7 separate regions of the Homo sapiens genome follow, and regions 1, 2, 3, 4, 5 and 7 are each linked to region 6. Evidence: promoter capture Hi-C in 16 types of primary human blood cells and fetal thymus (Javierre and others, 2016). All regions are on one chromosome and are shown on one strand. The core of a region is centred on a gene start or on the middle of the fragment in contact, and the rest is flanking DNA. Distances in the headings are between cores, read along the strand shown.

Evidence for each region. Contacts are between HindIII fragments. The CHiCAGO score rates a contact against its expected background, and 5 or more counts as called.
Region 1: a fragment that was not itself captured here is called in contact with the fragment with the promoter of DUSP5 in region 6 in 5 of 17 cell types (neutrophils, monocytes, M2 macrophages and 2 more); the score reaches 16.6 in neutrophils.
Region 2: a fragment that was not itself captured here is called in contact with the fragment with the promoter of DUSP5 in region 6 in 7 of 17 cell types (activated CD4 T cells, naive CD4 T cells, total CD4 T cells and 4 more); the score reaches 8.0 in activated CD4 T cells.
Region 3: a contact is called between a fragment that was not itself captured here and the fragment with the promoter of DUSP5 in region 6, in 3 of 17 cell types (activated CD4 T cells, monocytes and total B cells). The highest score is 11.2, in activated CD4 T cells.
Region 4: a fragment that was not itself captured here is called in contact with the fragment with the promoter of DUSP5 in region 6 in 7 of 17 cell types (neutrophils, activated CD4 T cells, monocytes and 4 more); the score reaches 12.5 in neutrophils.
Region 5: a contact is called between a fragment that was not itself captured here and the fragment with the promoter of DUSP5 in region 6, in 5 of 17 cell types (M0 macrophages, naive B cells, non-activated CD4 T cells and 2 more). The highest score is 6.8, in M0 macrophages.
Region 7: a contact is called between a fragment that was not itself captured here and the fragment with the promoter of DUSP5 in region 6, in 14 of 17 cell types (activated CD4 T cells, fetal thymus, neutrophils and 11 more). The highest score is 13.5, in activated CD4 T cells.

The regions. Positions count from the first base shown.
Region 1 is chr10:109,986,129-109,989,052 of GRCh38, reverse strand. All of the region lies in intron 2 of ADD3-AS1 (ADD3 antisense RNA 1), which reads left to right. Among named protein-coding and RNA genes, the nearest start is that of ADD3, 20 kb to the left of the region's middle. RefSeq lists an enhancer at 1,207-1,708. The HindIII fragment of the contact is 9,885 bases long and covers 1-2,924 here.
Region 2 is chr10:110,991,190-110,994,133 of GRCh38, reverse strand. The region is part of intron 3 of SHOC2 (SHOC2 leucine rich repeat scaffold protein); the gene reads right to left. Among named protein-coding and RNA genes, the nearest start is that of MIR548E, 3.7 kb to the right of the region's middle. The HindIII fragment of the contact is 826 bases long and covers 902-1,727 here.
Region 3 is chr10:110,062,838-110,065,546 of GRCh38, reverse strand. All of the region lies in intron 1 of ADD3 (adducin 3), which reads right to left. Among named protein-coding and RNA genes, the nearest start is that of ADD3-AS1, 56 kb to the right of the region's middle. The HindIII fragment of the contact is 7,149 bases long and covers 1-2,709 here.
Region 4 is chr10:110,023,763-110,026,618 of GRCh38, reverse strand. All of the region lies in intron 1 of ADD3 (adducin 3), which reads right to left. Among named protein-coding and RNA genes, the nearest start is that of ADD3-AS1, 17 kb to the right of the region's middle. The HindIII fragment of the contact is 8,514 bases long and covers 1-2,856 here.
Region 5 is chr10:110,962,041-110,964,740 of GRCh38, reverse strand. SHOC2 (SHOC2 leucine rich repeat scaffold protein) reads right to left here. Exons shown (of 9, transcript NM_007373.4): 2 at 1-616. The coding sequence starts at 382. Among named protein-coding and RNA genes, the nearest start is that of MIR548E, 26 kb to the left of the region's middle. The HindIII fragment of the contact is 885 bases long and covers 898-1,782 here.
Region 6 is chr10:110,496,453-110,499,181 of GRCh38, reverse strand. It overlaps DUSP5 (dual specificity phosphatase 5), which reads right to left and starts at 1,275. Exons shown (of 4, transcript NM_004419.4): 1 at 682-1,275. The coding sequence starts at 1,060. DUSP5-DT (DUSP5 divergent transcript) reads left to right here and starts at 2,700. Exons shown (of 2, transcript NR_187547.1): 1 at 2,700-2,729. RefSeq lists silencers at 549-818, 939-998, 1,069-1,208, 1,219-1,748 and an enhancer at 2,230-2,729. The HindIII fragment of the contact is 7,811 bases long and covers 1-2,729 here.
Region 7 is chr10:110,005,004-110,007,706 of GRCh38, reverse strand. ADD3-AS1 (ADD3 antisense RNA 1) reads left to right here. Exons shown (of 5, transcript NR_038943.1): 2 at 1,626-1,750. It also overlaps a transcript of ADD3 not described here. Among named protein-coding and RNA genes, the nearest start is that of ADD3, 1.6 kb to the left of the region's middle. RefSeq lists a silencer at 1-140 and enhancers at 1-522, 523-1,078. The HindIII fragment of the contact is 252 bases long and covers 1,323-1,574 here.

The DNA.
Region 1 (2,924 bases), core at 374-2,873, 510 kb after region 6:
AGTGACCCAAACATAAGAGTACAGCTGGATGGATTTGCATAAACTGAACCTATCTGTTTTTCTAGTACTCAGATCATGAAATGGGACATTAACAACCTATCAGAAACCCCTTTTGTGCTCCCTACCAATCACTACTGTTCCACATCCCTGCCAAGTGGAATCACTATCCTGACTTCTAACCCCATAGATCGGTTTTCTAACCATTATGAACTAAACATATTGTTTAATCCTTGAACAACTCTGAGATAGAATTTATATCCATTTTACAGCTTTAACGTGTGTACTTTTTTTGTATCTGGCTTCTTTCACTCATGTTTATAAGTGAAATGGAATGTCCTTGCCCATGGTTATAGATTGTTGCCACCTAAGTTTTAAGCAAGGGAGTAGTGTGGGCTGACCTCTGGGTTAGAAAAGCTACTTTAGCAGCTTCGAGGAGGGTAGAATAGAAAGACAAGAAGACCCATGGAAGGAGCTAGGGAAATAATCCACACAAGAGATGATGAGGACTGACCCAGAGCCCAAGCAGTGGGGGTAGAGAAGGGGTGGAAAGATCAGAGCTCTGGAGAAGCAATTCAAAACATGTGTTCCATTTACAGTGTCCTTCAAACACAGAGGAGAACACTCAGCTGAATGCTCAGAACCCAAGCAACATTAATTGACCACAGCATTAGTTTGGGTGCTTTTCAAGATTTAAATGAAACAAGCTACATCTCTCTGAGAGTCTATTGTCATAGATGACCGGGATGAGACAGAAGAAGCTAACACAATGTGGATGAATGACAGGGTCCCTTGAGACTTTAATGACCTCAAGTGATGTTGGAAGAGTTTTGTAGCTGATTTCTTTTTCTTACATATATTTTGAGTAGCAGAGTGTCAACATAAAATTTAGATTGGTAAGGAAAACAACACCAGGATTGAAGAGAAAACAGGGGTAGGTAAGAGTTTTAGCAGAAAGTTGAGAGGGATGAGGCTGTGAGTGGGTGTGTAGTACAGACAGAGGGGAGATGGCTGGTGAAGCATGAAGTGAGAACTCATTCTGCATCTATCTTAATCTCACGCTTCTCAAACTTGGGTGTATATATCTCTGAAAGCATGTCAGGAGGAACTAGAGCCACCCAATAAATATAGTACATTTTCTTGGAATGTTCATTTTATGCTAGGACTGAGGAGAAAGATTCCATTTATTTGGAAACAAACAATGTGTTATGGAGTAGAATGCAAACTTCATGTGAAGTTTTAAGTTAAAACATAAGACTTTAAGTATATTTCTAGCAAATGCTTTTTTGGCCTTCAGCCCCAATGCCTCCCTTGTGATTAGGTAAAATCCAGAAGAAAAGTTTTGCAAAATCTCATCTCCGTCACTTTTGACTCCATGCTCCACTCTATGCTGCTAGGACCTACACTGAGCTCTTTTCCAGACTGTGGTGTTACTCATTCAGCAACATTCCTTCCTTTCTTTACTCACTCATTCCAAACATGTTAAGTAAGGGCCTGCCCTATTGTAGGACCTGGGAGATAGTTTTCTCCTGTACAATACTGTAAGTTCCAGAAAGGACTGTGCCTTAAAAGAAAACATTTAGAATCCCTACAGCGTTTGTCAAAACTTGCACATATTAAATGTTTTATAAATATTTGTTGACATAAAATGAAATGGGATATTTGCCAAATCTTTGCAAAAACTCAGAGAGGAATTAGGAGAGGGACAATAAAGAGGAGAGAAAGGTATGAATATATGTGAACTGCTAACCATTTTGAACTAAACATATTGTTTAATCCTTGAACAACTCTGAGATATAATCTATATCCATTTTACAGCCAAGGAAACTGAGGCTGAGAAAGAATAAAGTAACATGTTTGAAGCAACACAGCTAGTATCAGAGTACAGATTCAATCCCAGCTTTGTCTGGTACTAAGGTCCATGGAGGATATCTATAAAAATGTAAAATGCATGTGTCTTTTGACCCAGTAACTCTAGGAATTTATCGTCTAAATACAATCAAATAAGTGCTTAAAGATACAAACACAAGGATGCTCATTTTGGTGCTAATTGCTAATTGTACCACCACACCCAGCTAATTTTTGTGTTTTTAGTAGTGAAGAGGTTTCACCATGTCGACCAGCCTGGTCTCGAATGCCTGATCTCAAGTGATCCACCCAACTTGGCCTCCCAAAGTGCTGGGATTACAGGGGCGAGCCACCACTCCCAGCCAAAGTCAACTTAAACATAAGTATATATTACTTTTATAATAAAAAGCAAACAAGTTAATAAAATTAAATGAAAATAAAGCCTGCACTTAGATTTAAGTCCTTGATCTATCTTGAGTTGATTTTTATATAAGGTAAGAGATGAGGATCCAGTTTCATTCTCCTACAGGTGGCTTGCCAATTATCCAAGCACCATTTGTTGAATAGTGTGTCCTTTCCCCACTTTATGTTTTTGTTTGCTTTGTCAAAGATCAGTTAGCTGTAGGTATTTGGCTTTATTTCTTGGTTCTCTATTCTGTTCCATTGGTCTATGTGCCTATTTTTATACCAGTACTATGCTGTTTTGGTGACTGTGGCCTTATCGTATAGTTTGAAATCAGGTAATGTGATGCCTCTAGATTTGTTCTTTTTCCTTAGTCTTGCTTTGGCTATGCAGGCTCTTTTTTAGTTCCACATGAATTTTAAGATTTTTTTTCTAGTTCTGTGAAGAATGATAGTGGTATTTTGATGAGAATTGCATTGAATTTGTAGATTGCTTTTGGCAGTATGGTCATTATCACAATATTTATTTTACCCATCCATAAGCATGAGATGTTGATCCATTTGTTTGTGTCATCTATGATTTCTTTTAGCAGTATTTTGTAGTTTTCCTTGTATAGGCCTTTCACCTCCTTGGTTAGGTATATTCCTAAGTATTTAATTTTTTTGCAGCTATTGTA
Region 2 (2,944 bases), core at 65-2,564, 490 kb before region 6:
CAGCTAACCTTTAAAAAAAAAAATGGAAGTAAACAAGACCATCCCTTTTTCTCCTTTACATCACTGCTTTCCCTATGGAAGAAAGTTGATCCATTGTAACAAAATGGCTGAATCTTTCACCAAGGGGTCTTTGAAGTCTGCCATAAGAGGGGAGAATTTATTAACAGAGAGAAGTCTCCATGATCTTACTCCATCAACTGACATGCCTCATTCAATAACCCTTTACAGTATCATGGTAGATAAATACAATATTTTAAATGTTTTTTATTCTCACTGAAAACTAAAAAACTTTCTGTGGTAACAAAGGTTAGTAGGGGAACCAAATTCTAAATGTTTGTCAACTCAAAAGCCTAGTAAATAGAACCAGATTCTTGAAATTTCTCATCCAAAACCAAATAACTCTTAAGTTTCTCACTTTTAAAACCAGAGTAGGTTCCTAGAATTTAAAAATTACAAAATAAAAATAATGTAGCCAAATTGCTACATGACATTATCTAGTACCAAAACCAGTAGTAATTTAAATTAAAAGGTACCTCCACCTTTCTTGGATCTAAATTTTTTGCTTTTTGCTGGGGCGGAAGGGGTTGAATTTCTAACAATGTAATCTATGAGAATAGGCTGTTCTGATGAAGAAATCTCACATTTGCAAAGGCCCTATCACTTGAGACCACTGGCAAATTCAAAGAGTCATCCACATTTTGCCAAAGTCCATTACTCTCAGCTAAATAAAAAAGGTTAAAAAAATTAAGGATGAAATATCAAAACTCTTTTACGCCAGAAGAAAACATCAGAAGTCTGGCATTTATTGTGATTCACCCTCTGCAGTGGTTTCAGCTCTAACCCCTCTCAATGAGTGGTTTTAACCACAAACTAAACTGCAACCTAGAAATCAACACAAGCTTGCTTTAATGTTGAGCCATCTTGACTAAGAAATAAAATCATTGTTGCTGAGCTCCTGTATATAAACGTAGGCTGATCACTGCCAATCACTGGCATTTAGCTTTCAAGTGCTTAACTTTGTCTACAAATTGTTCTGTGCTCCACTTTGACAGCTTGCTTTCTCTTACGCTGTCAGATTTTTAAAATATGGTGAAATCAAATGGCTATGAATTAAAATTAGATTCTTTCAATTTCAGCAAATATAACCAGCAACTTTAGTTTAATTTAGTATAACTTTCGAGTAAGACTAATTTAAATGATCATAATCTTATTTTAACAAAGTAGCAAAAAAAATAGTAGGAAAGACTCAGGGTTGGAAGGATGAAATGTCAAAGGTACCATTATTTTTTCAGAAACATTAAACTGAAAGCAAACTGAAAAGTAAGCAACACAGAAATTCCTGAATGTTAAAAACCCAAAGAACACCACCATTAAAAAGAAAACTAGTAAAGTTGTTATACATACGCTGCACTGTAATTACCTAAAACCCAATTACTAAAATGACTAAAATGCTACTTGTTGATATAACCATAATTAATGTAACATTTCTTCAGAGCCCAGTGCAACAAAAAGGCTTCTGTGAATTGTTCTGCACTCCAGCCTTGAAGGCAAGGTTTTGTGGCACAGTTCTCTCCTAATCTCATTTTGAGAAGAAATACAAAGTAAAGTATTTTTTCCTACTTCGGACTGTTTCTTCCCTGGATTACATAAAACTACCAGAGGTACCAGAAGGCTTTAAAAAACATCAGGTTCATACTTTAAAACAAAATAACTGTTGGAATAAAGCTTAATATTTTCTTCTGTTCATAGCTAATTTCTGAATGAGAAAATATTCATATAAAATAATACTTTTTTTATTCAACAAGGCAGACTAACAGTTAAATCAGAGAAACTATAAATATGTATTTAAGCACTCTCTTACTTAACTGCAACTTGGTAATCCCCAACCCATTTCCTTCTGTCTCTTCCTCACATCCTATGAGTTGTCAGCGATACTAGCTTCTCAGCCTGGAAGTAAATGGCAGTAATTATCACAGGGGAGTGATAGTTACTCCAGGAATGTTCATGTTAAATAAAGAAAAAAGTAAAAAACATTCTGGTCTACTTATAAGAAAAAAGAAAAAAAGGAAAAGGCAAGTAAATACAGTGATTTCTGGGAAGTGATTTTAAGACAATACAAGATTTGATTTTCAGTTACAAGTTTAGGGCAAGATTCTTTAGTCCAAGGAAAAGAGAGTGGGCAGCTGCTTCCAGACTAGCATCAACTCTGCAGAACAGGTGTTGGGCTTTCTGTTTGTTTTTCATTTTAAGTTATACTTTCTCAGAACTAGAGTAGGATTTAAAAAAGGAGAAGTATCAGGAGAACCATAATTCAATTAAGTTTCCACTACTTAGGGTAAATTCTTCATCTTCAATAAATGAGAGTGAAAATCTCAAAGGTCAATTAAAACTGTTGAAATTTTTAACAGACCAAGACCCAAACGTCAAAGTTTCCCACCAAACCTCAATCTTCTGCTACATCATCAAAATACTAGGACTGGAAAGGATGGAGAAAGATAAAGTAATTATTTTAATAAACATGGTAATCGATAAATGACTACAATATCATAAAAAGTTTCAATAAATATTACTAATTTACTTTGCCATTTACTCAGAGTAACAGCTGTACTATACTTGGTGACAACCATCAAAGCATATAAAAGTAAATGCAATGTTATTTAAAATTTTCTTGTTGTTAATGTTTCAGTTCTCATTGATTTCCAATTTGTAATACTGTAATCTGGCCCTATAGAATAAGCTAGAGGTGAGGCATATGTGTTATTCTAGGATAACATCTAAACTACAAGAGATTAATAATAAAATCAAATGTTTTCATATTAGTAAACACACTTAAAACACAGAAGAATTACCTCCAATAGGACACTAATCCTACTTACTAGAAGACTGTATCATATATCACCACCTATGCTTTCTCTGTTTACCAGGATTATTCATTTCAGTACTT
Region 3 (2,709 bases), core at 148-2,647, 430 kb after region 6:
AAAAAAAGGGGAGAGAGAGAGGCTAAGAAAAAATGAGAGAGAGAGAGAGAGAGAGAGACAGACAGAGACAGACACACACTAAGAGACTTTAGTAAAGTCCAACATACCAAAGTTCCTGAAGAGGAAATAGATCAGAGGAGATATTCAAGGAAATCATGGCTAGAGACTTTTTGCAGAGTGGTCCAGGGACAGACTGCCTACAAAGGACTGACAATTAAACCTGCAACAGACTTCAAAAGAAGACTAAATAAAAGCAATGAGACAAAGAAATATATTCAAATTGCTGTGACAAGATGTCAGTCTAGGAATTGTATATCTAACAAAACTATCTTTGGAGAATAAGAGTAAAATAAAACACTGTCTCACTAAAAAGTTTTATGAACTTACTAAAGGAACTTTTAAAGGACAAATTCTAGGAAGAAAGAAATTAAAACTGGAAGGGCAGGCTGGGATGGAAGAAACAACAGTGAGTAAAGAAATTTGTAATTTTTTTTTTCTTTTCTGAAACAGGGTCTCGCTCTGTCGCCTAGACAAGATCTCAGCTCACTGCAACCTCTGCTTCCCAGGTTCAAGCGATCCTCCCACTTCAGCCTCCTGCATAGCTAGGACTACAGGTGCGTGCCACCACCCCTGGCTAATTTTTGTATTTTTTGTAGAGATAAGGTTTTGCCATGTTGCCCAGGCTGGGAAACATGCAGTTTTAAAAATACTGTATAAAAAAATAGCAATAACAAATGCAGGTGGTTAAAAACAAGGTGAACTAATACCCTGGTTAATAATAGCATATAAGATAAGAATAGAAAATAAGAGTGTTTTAAGATCCTTGTATTGTTCAGAAAAAGGGAAGAGACAGCTATTAACTTTGGATTTTAAGAATGGATGTTAACATTTTAAGGGTATCTGAAAAAAGATAATCCAGAATATATCTTTTTAGACCACTGATATCAATAATAAAAAGAAAAATAACCCAATTTTTCTATTAGTAAAAGACGTGAACAGCACTTTGCAAAAGCACATCCAAAAACCCAGTATGTACATTAAGAAGTGCCCATCATCATTAGTTATAAGGGAAATAAAAATTAAAGCCACAGTGAGATACCACTATCTACCTACCAGTGTGGCTAAAATGAAAACAGAAACAAAAAACTTAATATCAAGTACTGGCAAGGATGTGGAACATCTGGAACTCAGAGTTGGTATGTCAATTAGTACAAATACTTTGGGAAACTGGCCTTACCTGCAAAAGTTGGAGACACACATGCCCTGTAAGCCAGCCACTCCTCTCCCAGAAATACACTCAAAAGAGCTGCATGGATATGAACAACAAAAACCATACAACAAGGATGTTCATGGCAGAATTATTTTTAATAGATGCAAACTGGAAACAATCTGAATGACCATTATCTAAATGAATTATTTTATGTTCATAAAATGGAATACAGTACATACAATAAAGAGAATGAATTACTGTTACATTTAACAACACAGACAAATCCCACAGGAAAAAAAATGCTGGGCAAAAGAAGCTGGAGACAAAAGAGTAGATATTGAATGATTCCATGTATATAAAATCCTGAAACAGGCAACACTACTCTATGGTATTCAAAACTAAACTTTGAATTTAGAATATGGTATGTTCAAAACTAAATTATGTCAGGATTATGGCTGCCTTGCAGAGAGAGGAGAAATGCCTGAGAACCCAGAGCAGGGTGTTGCTAGCATTCTAGTTCTTGACTTAGGTAGGTTACACACGGTGTTCACTTTATATATATATATATATATATATATATATATATATATATATATATAATGAATATATATATTCATATTCATCAAGCTGTACTGTTATGATTTCTGTACTTTTCTATATATATGTTAAACTTGCATTTAAAAGTTTATCTGAAAAAATTAAGTGATTTAAAAGAAAGAAAAGCCTCCCCTCTTTCTATAGCAAGAATTTATAACTTGATGCCATTTTTTCTGTTGGTTAGCTTAGCTCTCTGGAGACACTGTTAAATCCTCTTTCTCACAAAACCAAAGCATTTTCGTATCCAATTTCTTATAAGAAGTAATCTAAGTTCTCCTATATGAGCTCTATATATACTCCTATACAAAATGTAAGTGATCCATGTAATATCAACTACTTAGCAAGGAGGCATAATAAATAAAGAAATTCAAGAAAATTTAGGTCTGAAATCAGTACACTACTTAACTCCGCTTCTCCACCTCAACAATATAATGGATTTAAATACATAGTGCAGCATAAATTATCACAATGTTCAATCACTGTGGCCAACAGCAGTGTTACAGTATTAATGCATTCTGTTGTCTGAATTCAACAGCTTCTCCCATCTTCAGCTCCTGATGCCATTTTTCAGTGATAAGAAACATTAACAACACATTCACAAAACACTTAAAATCTAAATTAGGCCTTCTAGTCGTTAAAAAAAATGAAGACATTGTTCGAAACTAAATTATGCAAAATGAAAACAAAAACCTGCATGTAACCACTAACCCACAACAAATAATTAAGAATTATTTTTTCCCTTAATCACAATCTTTCTGCTGGGGAGAGATAATCAGAACAGATCCCGAAATATCTGTTCAAGACTAACACATTTCAGGGTTACACAATCTTGCCCTATCCAATCTTGTCCTAAGAGAATTTTCTGAATTCTCAGTGTAATAGAAATTTTATATCCATATTAT
Region 4 (2,856 bases), core at 26-2,525, 470 kb after region 6:
GTACCTGGGTCCTATTAAAACTGACTTAAAAGTACAATCAGCCGGGTGTGGTGGCTCACGTCTGTAATCCCAGCACTTTGGGAGGCCGAGGTGGGCGGATCACCTGAGGTCGGGAGTTCAAGACCAGCCTGACCAACATGGAGACACCCCATCTCTACTAAAAATACAAAATTAGCCAGGCGTGGTGGCACGTGCCTGTAATCCCAGCTACTCAGGAGGCTGAGGCAGGAGAATTGCTTGAACCGGGAGGCTGAGGTTGCAGTGAGCCGAGATCACGCCACTGCACTCTAGCCTGGGCAACAAGAGTGAAACTCCGTTTCAAAAAAAAAAAAAAAACAAGAAAACTGGGGTCATAAGTTCTATAATCTATTTCACTCAAATGACCTAAAACTATTCCTTTTCATTGGAGGGGTGGAACTGTTTCTCATTTAAATACATTCCTTTCCAAAAGAAAAAGGAATGTCAAGGCAGCCAAATACATCCATTCTGAATTTTCTATATAATGTTCCTAAACATGTCAGAAACATTTACCATGTACATGACTTGCTTCAGTGGTGAGCACACTAAAATTGGAACAATATACATAATATCAGTGTGGCTTCTATTAAGAAAACAAGAAAGATCCTGACACATTACAGATTTTGGAAAAAACTTCACAAAACTTTCCCAAATTCGATGAAATTTTTTTTTTCTTTTTTAAGGAAAAGGGAAAAACAGATATCTTGAAAAGAAGCCTCAAATCTGAGAGATTGGGGTCTCTCATCCTGTCCAAACCCTGCTCTAGGGAAGGTCAGGTGGAATTCTGACAAAACCCCTTACCCCAGAATTGCATGAATGGAGTTAAGATGGCTCGTAATGTAATGAAGTGAAAAAAGCACTGGACAGAGGCAGGAATCTCAGTTTTGAGTCTAGATCTGCCACAAGCAACATGTTGCCTTAAACACGGAACTTCCTTTAATCAGACTGGGTTCTTCACTCTTAAAATGAAGTAAGGTTTCCACAATTCTATGAATCTAGATTTTATCACCCTCTCTATTTCTATTTGCTTCTCCTTTAAAGTATACAGAGAATTCCTACGTCTACTCATATAACAGAAAGTCTGATTTTACACAAAGGCATAATTTTAGCATCTGAAGAAACTTGCAAGCCTAGAGACCCCTTACTTCTATTAACTAGGGGACTTGCTTTTAATTGAACCATGGAGGCAGAAGTTGGCTACCACCACTCTGAAGATTCCCATCTCTCCCACAAATATCGAACTAAAATTAAAAAAATATTAAATTAAATTAGTATTATTAAATTTAAAAAGTATTATTTATACTATAGTATGAGTGAAAGATTATTATAGCTACCACCTCCCACTTTCTATACCTCTGCCTTAGTGGAACGGACGCTAGGAAAGGAAACGTTTTAATAAAATGACAGCCAGGTGCGGTGGCTCACACCTGTAATCCCAGCACTTTGGGAGGCCGAGGTGGGTGGATCACTTGAGGCCAGGAGTTTAAGAGCAGCCTGGCCAACATGGCAAAACCCCGACGCTATTAAAAATACAAAAAAATTAGCCAGGCATGGTGGCGCACGCCTGTAACTCCAGCTATTCAGGAGGCTGAGGCACAAGAACCCACTTGAACCCAATGCACTCCTGCCTGGGTGATGGAGTGAGACTCTGTCTCCAAAAAAAAAAAAAAGAAAAGAGGAGGAAACTTGAGTGGTTTGGGGGTGACAACTTACTTTTCACTGTATACGCTTTTGTGCCTTATTTTGTTCCATGTCCTTATATTTCTTACTCAAAATTTCAAGTATTTAAAAAATAAATGGATTTTATAAAAATTTGATTCAAATAGTAAGTTTAACTTTGAAACCAATAAAATCATTCTTGCTTTTAAAAAACTGAGTGCTTTTCACTGATTTTCATTTTACTAAGAATTACTTTTGAGTAAGTTATTTTAAACATCTAACACTTAAAAATTTTAAGCATGAAAATTTTACATTGAAATAATCTAGAAGTTAGTTCTGTCAAATTCAGTGTTTTCTCCCACCCATTTATAAAATCACTATGTCCCAATATAAAGCCCTGTGTTAAATATCTTATTACAAGGAGCTACAAACAAAAATGGTCAACTGTGCATGCAACAAAGCTACTAGAGGAGCCAAATCATCTTGTTTCACCATTCAAATGTGCAAAAAGTCTTACTGGATTGGATTCTCCACTAAATTCACATAGCAAAAATAATTCTGCATGTGATTTTTTTTGGCAATAATTTATTATAGGTGCTTACGCTATGTTTACTTTTGAAGTTTCAAGATAAACCACCATATGTTATTAAGGGGAAACCAAGATGGCACAATGACTTCCTGTAATGACAACATGCAATACCTGATATTGCAAAGCCCAATGCCTTCAATTCTTTTGTTATTCCATTGCACAAAAGTTCTGTTTATAATTTCAACTTTTATTTTAGATTCAGGGTGTACCTCTGCAGGCTTATTACACGGGTATATTGTGTGATGCTGAGGTTTGGGGTACAATTGATCCTATCACCCAGGAAGTAAGCATTGTGCTGGACAGTTTTTCAGCCCTTATCCCCTCCCTCTCTTCTGCCTCTAGTAGTCCCCAGTGTCGACTGTTCTGTCTTTATGTCCACGTGTACCCAATGTTTACCTCCCACTTTAAGTGAGAACATGTGGTATTTGGTTTTCTGTTCCTGTGTTAATTTGCTTGGGATAATGCAATGCACAAAAGTTTAAAATTAAATGCAAAAACACAGCATAGGGGAAGCACCTTCATTTGTAAACAAAAAGACTATTCTTTAGCCAAAATGGTGACTATTCAACCACTTCCAAATTCATAAATGA
Region 5 (2,700 bases), core at 91-2,590, 470 kb before region 6:
GTTCTGTTAATTGAGTCAACTCTTTGATTGATGATGGCAATATGTGTATAGATCTCTTGGATAAGTCCAAACGCATTGAATTCTCTTCCCGGCATTTGTTGAGCTCTTTAATCACCTCTGCATTGCTGGATTTTTTTCTAGTCCCAGGTGCTGGGTTTGGCCGTTTGATCGTATTGTCAACTGAAAATGCCACCCCTGGTTGGGCAGCACTGGAGTCCTTCTTTCCATCTTTGGCATCTTTCCCTTTGGTCTTAGGTTCTTTTTCTTTGCTCTCTTTCCCAAAACCTCCAGAGGCTTTTGCCTCCTTTTCTCTTTCCTTGGCTGATGGTACTTTGGGATCTTTTTCTTTAGAGTCTTTTTCTTTTCCTAAACTACTACTCATGGTGACTCAAGCCTGGACAAAAACTACATGAACTCCTTTTATTTTCCAGTAATTGAATTCAAAGATGAAGAGACAAAGATCCTACACAATCAAAAAAGTACTGGCTTGAAGAAGTAATCAGCATGGAGTAACATCCATCTGTTACATGTTGGATCTAAAAGCACTATGCCCATTTCTGATCATTCATTCCAACTGGTAAAATAGTGCTGGTCAATCAATGATTCATTAGAGTTCCTGAAATATAATATAGACAGTATTAAATTACTTTAGATAATTTATATTAAATAGGCTCTGAAAAACAATCTTATTAGAGTTTGCCATTTTCCTATGATTTCATTCTCAAATATTTATGAACATCCTTTATAGGTAAAAATCCATTTAAAACTACACAGCTTAATAAGGCTGGCTCTACCTTCAAGAAACTTGCAATCTAATAGGAAGATGTATGAATGTAAGTTACTTTACTAGAAAATTTTATAAGACCTAAAAAGTGGAAGAAACCACAACAATAAGCTTAATATTTATTAAGTGCTTTCTATGTACTAGCATTATTCTGAGGAATTCACATGTATTAATATAACACATACAACAGCCCTATGAGATACATTGTTATCCCCATTTTATACAAAGAAACACTAAAGCACAGAAATATTTTTAAGTAACTAACTCTGAGATCTTGGAAACATGATGGAGCCAATATTCCAAATTAGGTAGTATGTGCTCACAGCCTATGTTCCTAACCCACTACACTAAAACAGTTCTAGCTACAATTAATTGGCGGATAGCTTTAGATAACAGAAAGGATTTCAGTGGTGGTGACGATAGAAGAGAGAGCAGTCTGGCAAAAGAAAAAAAAAGAACAAAGTGAAATATGTATGAAAAACAGCACAGTTCAGGGAAAGGGGCATTAATAATCTGTACTTTAATAAGCACTCTACATGATTCTGATGGAGGTAGACCTGAGGATCACCTTTGAAAACCAGTGACAAAGGGCAATGTCCAATGATGTGTATATTCTAGGGACTGAAAAAGAAAGATCAATGGCACAGGGTTCTTAAAAGCAGAAAAAGTCTGCTGGTAAAATGACAGGCCGAAAAGATTGGCAAAGGACAAAAAGATTAGTAAAATATTTATGGAAGGAATCAGTCCTCCCTAAACATTTTGAAATTTAAAATTAGTAATTCTTATTTTATGACTCTATTGTTAACTCTATTTAACTAACTGGTAATTATTTGGTACTAGGGATTAAAGATAAAATAACTTCTTACCTGACTAGCTTAAGAGGTTAAAACAGTTATTAGAATTTTGTCAGACTACCAAAAGGATGTGATAATGTTAAGTGCTAAGGATTCTGCTAATAATTTATTTTTATAGGATGTGAACCTCTCTGTATACAAGCTTGTAGTTTAATTAGACAGCCAAAACACTCACATATAACAAGTAATTGATAAGACAGCATATTATTAAATCCTCAGGCAAGTGGCATATGCTATAGCACTTTTGAGAAAATTTGTAACAGTGAGAATGGTTGAGAAAAGCATACAGGACTTAGGCTAACTAGTCCTGGATTAATGGGTTGTGTTCAAGCAAGTAAAGGAGAGATGGCAAAGCATTACAGGTGGGTGGCATGAAAAAGAAAGTTTTGCCTAGAATAGGGAGTGGAGCTTAGTTTGCACGGGACACTGAAAATGTGTCACTTTGCTGAAGCAAATGGTCAAATGTGCAGAAATAACAGGAACTGGGGTAGAGGATGAATAATCTGTAAATTTGAAACTGCACAGTATGAACTTTACTGGTATATAAGATTCTACAATTAAACAAATACATCATTATTTGCTAGCACACCAGGAGAGCTCTATCTATTACTATTCAACCCTTTCAAAAAAAAAGAAAAAAATTATTTTGCACTGCGATGGAGAGAGACTAAGAAAAACTCTAGAGATACTGATTCAGAAAATAATGCTGATAAGCCAATATGAAAGTACATTTACTAAAACCATACAACTGAATAATGGGAAATATGCATAGCTAAAGGGTTACAGGCATTGCTTATCAATTTGTATTTAAGAAATGTCATTATATCAAGTTTCTGGAAATCAAATTTCTATTTAGCAAGATATGTATACCCTAAATTTAGAAGGACACCTCCTATATAAGGATCAAATGAAATATATAAGGTGTAAAATCACATATATTAAGTACAGAGGATAGAACAAGATTACCCCTATTAAAAGGTAAGAAAACTTGGAAAGAAATAAAAAGTAAACTTTTCTAATGATAAAAACGAAAAAAGAAAATACGTGACCTGAGATATTTGT
Region 6 (2,729 bases), core at 26-2,525:
GCTGGCTGGCTGTAGGCTCAGCTCAGGATGGGTCCCAGGGATAATCCTGGGGCGGAGGAAGGAGGAGGTGAAAAGGGTGGAAAGGATGTGAGCTCCAAACTGAGCTAGAGAAAAGACCTAGGAGGGGAGAAGAGGCCGGAGGGAAACAATAAAAAGCAATAAAATGAAATGGAAAGGGAAGGGACTCGCCAGGTCAAAAAGGCAAGGGGGTCGGTGAAGACCACAGCTGGCTAGGCGGGAGGAAGGGGGGCACCACGGCGCCACACCAAGGGAGAGTGGATCGCGACCTGCTGATCCCGCCAGATCAGTCTATCAGGAAGGCCCCGAGCCCTGACCCCAGCGACAGCGGCGAAGCTCGCGTCTGGAAAGGGGGCTCGTGCCCGGCACGAGCCGACGGCCCCCAAACTGCTAAACAGCAGCAGCCCCCGCAGCATAACCAACTCCACCCAGACCACCGGGCAGACCCGCTGCCGGGCGCTTTCGAGGAACGCGGGTGGGGAAGAGGGGGAGCTCTGAGTGCTGACATTTGCAGTGCCCTCCCAAGCGCACAACAAGCCACAGGGTGCAGACTCCTGCAGGTGGTGACTCTCCCGGTCCCAGGGTGTAGGAGGGCGCCCCGGCGCAGGGAGGGGACCCGGGGGCGCCGGAGGGGCGAGCGTGGCAGGGACCCCGAGCGCTCACCTTTGAGGAAGTAGACCCGCGGGCCGGCGGGTAGGCAAGCGAGTAGCGAGGTGAGGACGACACGCGCGGCGCTCTCCTCTCGCAGCTTCTGCCAGTGGCGGCTGCCCTGGTCCAGCACCACCACGGCCGCGACGCCGCCGCCGCCCTCCTGCAGGAGCCGCGCGCGCGCCGCCTCGTCGGGCAGCACGTAGCGCGCCGACACCGCGCCGCCCCGGGCCCGCCGCAGCACCACCGAGTTGAGGTTGACGTTGAGCGAGCCGCGCACGTTCGAGGCAGCGAAGGCCAGATAGGGCCGGCAGTCGAGCACCACGCAGCGCGCCGCCGCCTCCTTGCGGAGCATCTTGCGCAGCTGGCGCCCGTCGAGCGACGTGACCTTCATGCCGCCGCCGCCGCCGGCCAGCGGCCCCGCGCCGCGCGCCCCGCGGGTGCCCACGGCCAGGGTGTCCACGGCCAGGGTGTCCGCGGGCGAGGCACGGGAGGGCGACCCGCGGGGCTGCGGCCGCGACGGAGCCCGGCGCCCGAGCGGCGGCGCAACTCCGCGTTCCCGCCCCGCTCGCTCGATAGCCAGCCCGGCCGCTCGCCGCCCTAGAAGCCGGGGATTCCGCCGGCCGCGCAGCGTTTTATGTGAATGAGTGCCGTCCGTGACGCGGCTGCCCATATAAGGCCAAATATGGGTGTTTCCCCGCCCCTCGGGCCGTGGCCACGCCCTGCAGGGGGCGGGGCAGCGGGGGCGAGGGACGCGCGGGGCGGGTGCCGGCGTTAGAGCGAGAGGAAGTGGAAGGCGCCTCTTCGTTCTCTCTTCCGCGCTTCGCTGAGGGACTCACTCGCGCATCACCCGCGGCTGCCGGTCGAGTGTCCCAGGCGCTCCGGGGCCGCGGTGACCCTCGCGGTGCGGACCGAGGAGGAAGCGCCGTGGGGGGCGGGGCGGCGCCGCACGATCCGGCCTTCAGCTTCACGGACGTGGGCTGAGAACCCGCCCGCGCCGCGCTGAGCAGGGCCGAGGGAGCCGGCCAGGGCCCCAGAGGAGTCCGGAACGGATTCCCGTCGCTACCGAGGTCTGCGCGTGTAAGGAGAGGACGTCGGAGATTTGCCTCGAGGGGTGGGGTATAGATGACTGGAGAGGTCAGGCGCGGGTTGGTCATCGCTGAGGCTGGGTGATGGGTGGCCGGATTCGTTATACTGTTTTCTCCACTTTTCTGTATGTTTGATATTTTTCATAATAAAGTTTGTAAAAGTAAAAACGGGGGTTGGGGGTCGGCGGTGAGAATAGCCATTTAATCTTCCTAAATGGATTCTGCCCTCAAAGGATTGACGCTCTTTTCTCTGTCACTCTCCAATAATGATTAGAATAATAAGTTGTATTTTGAGGAGCTGTTTTCTGGTCCCGGGGAGACCCTTGGTGAACTCAGCAGTACCATCAGCATGTATCCCACGATGGAGCTCAGTTCAGCCAACTGTTGTCCAGGTGGCTTCTGGATTTGGGGGATTATCTATGGATCAAGTTTAATCTCAGGCTGTCTGCCCCCACCGGTCCCCAGGGGCTTCAGGCCTCCCACCCCTATTCCTGGGGAAGCAGACACAATTCACCCATTCAGCAAGCATTTATTGAGGGTCAGCCGTGTGCCAGGGCTTTGCTAGCTGCGGGGACACATGGATGGAAACAGGTTTCTGCCCCCAAGCTCACTGCCAACCATTTTATTGTTAGCCTGGCTGGGACTGCTTGATGGAAAACAGTCTGCCCGCACTAGACAAGGGCTTGTTGACAACTGACATAAGGGAATGAGGTTTTCAGAAGGAAGCAGAGATCAAATTTTGAAATCAGATGCAATCAAATCAGACACCAGGACAGCCAGCATTGCCTCTGGGTCACAGATGCATCCACCCAAAGGCGCTGTCCTCGCCTTGCCAGTGGGGTCTTGGTGAAGACGTGATGCGGGGGCCTTCTTTCTTTTTGTGGTTATCTGTGCCAGCCTTCCCTGCAGGCTGCTCTTCCTCTAGCACGTTCTGTTTCTGTTACCGGCTCTTTCCACCCCCGGCATCTCCGCCTA
Region 7 (2,703 bases), core at 199-2,698, 490 kb after region 6:
GTCCGTGAAGCCGCAGCGGTGGGGGCCTGCAGGCCCGGCAGCCGGGAGGGCCTGGTTCGGGGCGGCTGCCTGGCGCCTTTTCAACGTCCTCTTCTGACTGTGCAGCTCGAATCCGCGGCGTCCCCGGAGGGCCAGAGGGGGAAACGACCCCGATAGAAACCCGACCGCGAAGGGGAGGAGGGGCGCCTCGGAAATGTCTCCCGCCCTAAATGAGCGAGCCCCCTACTCCTACTCCCGAGGCTGAGCCGCCGCTTTGAGTCAGCCTCGGCCGCCCACGCTGGCTGCTGGGGCTGTAGGAGGCCACTGCAAAGGTTCAACCTCCGCACGCCCCCCGTGGGGCCTGGACTTTGCTCTCAGCACAGCTGCCTTCGCGGGCGCCTAGTCCCCACAACCCCTGCTTCACCTCCACATAGGGGGAGGACAGGGGCTCTCGCTTCTGCTTCATTTGGACCCCTCGAGAGTCTTCACTCCCGCTTTGGCTCCCGGCCTCTGAACCTTATGAGAGCTCACTTCTTTGAGGCGAAAAGTCGAGGCATCGCCAAGAACCTTCAAAATGAATGCGGGGCCGGGCAAACTTTGCAACACGCAATTGCAGGGCTGTGGATCCATCCACAGGTGACACCGGGCCTCCCACCCCCCTCGCCCAGACATGTTTCTCATCCCAACCTATTCTTGAAATAGACCTCCCAGCGGTGCACACTTTTCTCTGCCACCCACGACTTCCACGTCCCTCCTGCACCAGTACACTTGCAAGCACACCCCTCCGAGCGCCATTCTAATGATTCATGGTCCCTTGGGCCAACCCCACCCTAACACACACAACAAACTTCGTTCCCCACCCTTATCCCCCTTCGTTTCCAAGGCACTGGCGACAATCCACTTCATTTCCTTTCCTCATCTGCAGACTCGTCCCCCTCAAATACCTCACGCCATCCGCCTCATCTTCATCCCCCCCCTCCTCCCTAAAAATGTGCTAATTAAAATGTAGTTTCCTCTTCCCACATATGAAGTGTGGAAAATGAATCTTGTCTTGACACAAACTGTGATGCATTTATCGTTTTCTCTCTCCACTGGACTAAGGCTGTAGAAATTTTAGTCTACCACCATCTCCCATTTGCTCAAAAAATCCAACCATGCCTTATTATTTTTAAATACTCTTAACGAATCGTGGGGAAGGCTGCCTAGTTTGAGGAAGAAAATTGTTTAGAAAATGCTCAGCCTGACATTTTATTTGGTATTTAAAAATATCTGCAGTATTTGAGAGAGATATTGGGAGTGGCTGGATATTTTCTTGCATTTAAAAAGCAAAAAAATGAAAAGCTTTGCATGCATCAAGGTTAGCCTTTTTATGAATAGCAAAAAAAGTATCCTAAGGGCACCTATCAGAATATAGTCCTCACTATATTTTGCTAGTCGCAAATCTGGACACCCCCACCACCACCAAAGGAAGACAAATTAACATAATCCATTTTAAGCATGTCTGATGAACAGTCTTTTCCATGATCATTCCTTTTCTCACAGTTTCTGGACAAAATAGCTAGATAGATCTCCTTACCCACCGAAGATCCAAAGCTTCCTTCTAACAAGGGTAGTAGACGTACGTGTCTGTGTCTTCTGTTCTCTAGGTGTGGATTCTGCAATGCTGCACAGAAACCTACTGCAGCCTCAGACCAACAGCAGCAGCAGCAGCGGCGGCGGCGGCAGCAGCAGCAGCAGCATTAGCAGCAGCAGCTTCTCTCAATGCTGAGTAGTAAGTGTTTGACTTAGTAAACTCTACAATTACCATTAGGCGCTTGCTTATGAGAGGAGGCGGAATCTTTCTTAAAGGAATGGGTTTTGTTTTTCCTCTCTAGTATTGCTTCATAAGAGGCAGAGAGGATGGAATCAGGGAGTTTTGTGGACTGAGTAAATGAGTACAGCTGTGGGAGGTCAAGGTTAAAATTAACTGGGTGGTTGAGGAATGGAGGCAATGATTTTAGTGTAAGTCAATGAAATGCTAGAAGCACCAGTTTTAAAGAGCCCTGCTAATTTCAAACATTGGGGTAATGGCAAAATAAAGTTGTATGCCTTGAAACTGATTAGTAATTTGTGCTAATATTTAATTTAATTTAATATTTGTGCTAATATTCAACATCGTACTAAAATAATAACTATATAAAGGAAAGCTATTTAGTATTTAATATAAGAATAAAAAGAAAAATGAATTAAAACTCGTTTATGTGACTAGAAGCAATGGATTCAAGTCCTACCTATAAGCATACTTGGAACTTCAGTGAATACCAGTATTAGAAAATATATTGTTGACAGGTTTCAATGTGTGCTCATGTGATATAAAAAATCACAATATTGCCGGGCGTGGTGGCTCACGCCTGTAATCCCAGCACTTTGGGAGGCTGAGGCAGGTAGATCACGAGGTCAGGAGTTCAAGACCAGCCTGGCCAAGATGGTGAAATCCCGTCTCTACTAAAAATACAAAAATTAGCCGGGCGTGGTGGCAGGCGCCTGTAATCCCAGCTACTTAGGAGGCTGAGGCAGAGAATTGCTTGAACCCGGGAGGCGGAGCTTGCAGTGAGCCAAGATCGCGCCACTGCACTCCAGCCTGGGTGACAGAGCAAGACTCCATCTCAAAAAAAAATAAAATAAAATTACAGTATTATGTATAGAAAAAACAAAATATATCTAAAATAATTTTTGGATAATAGC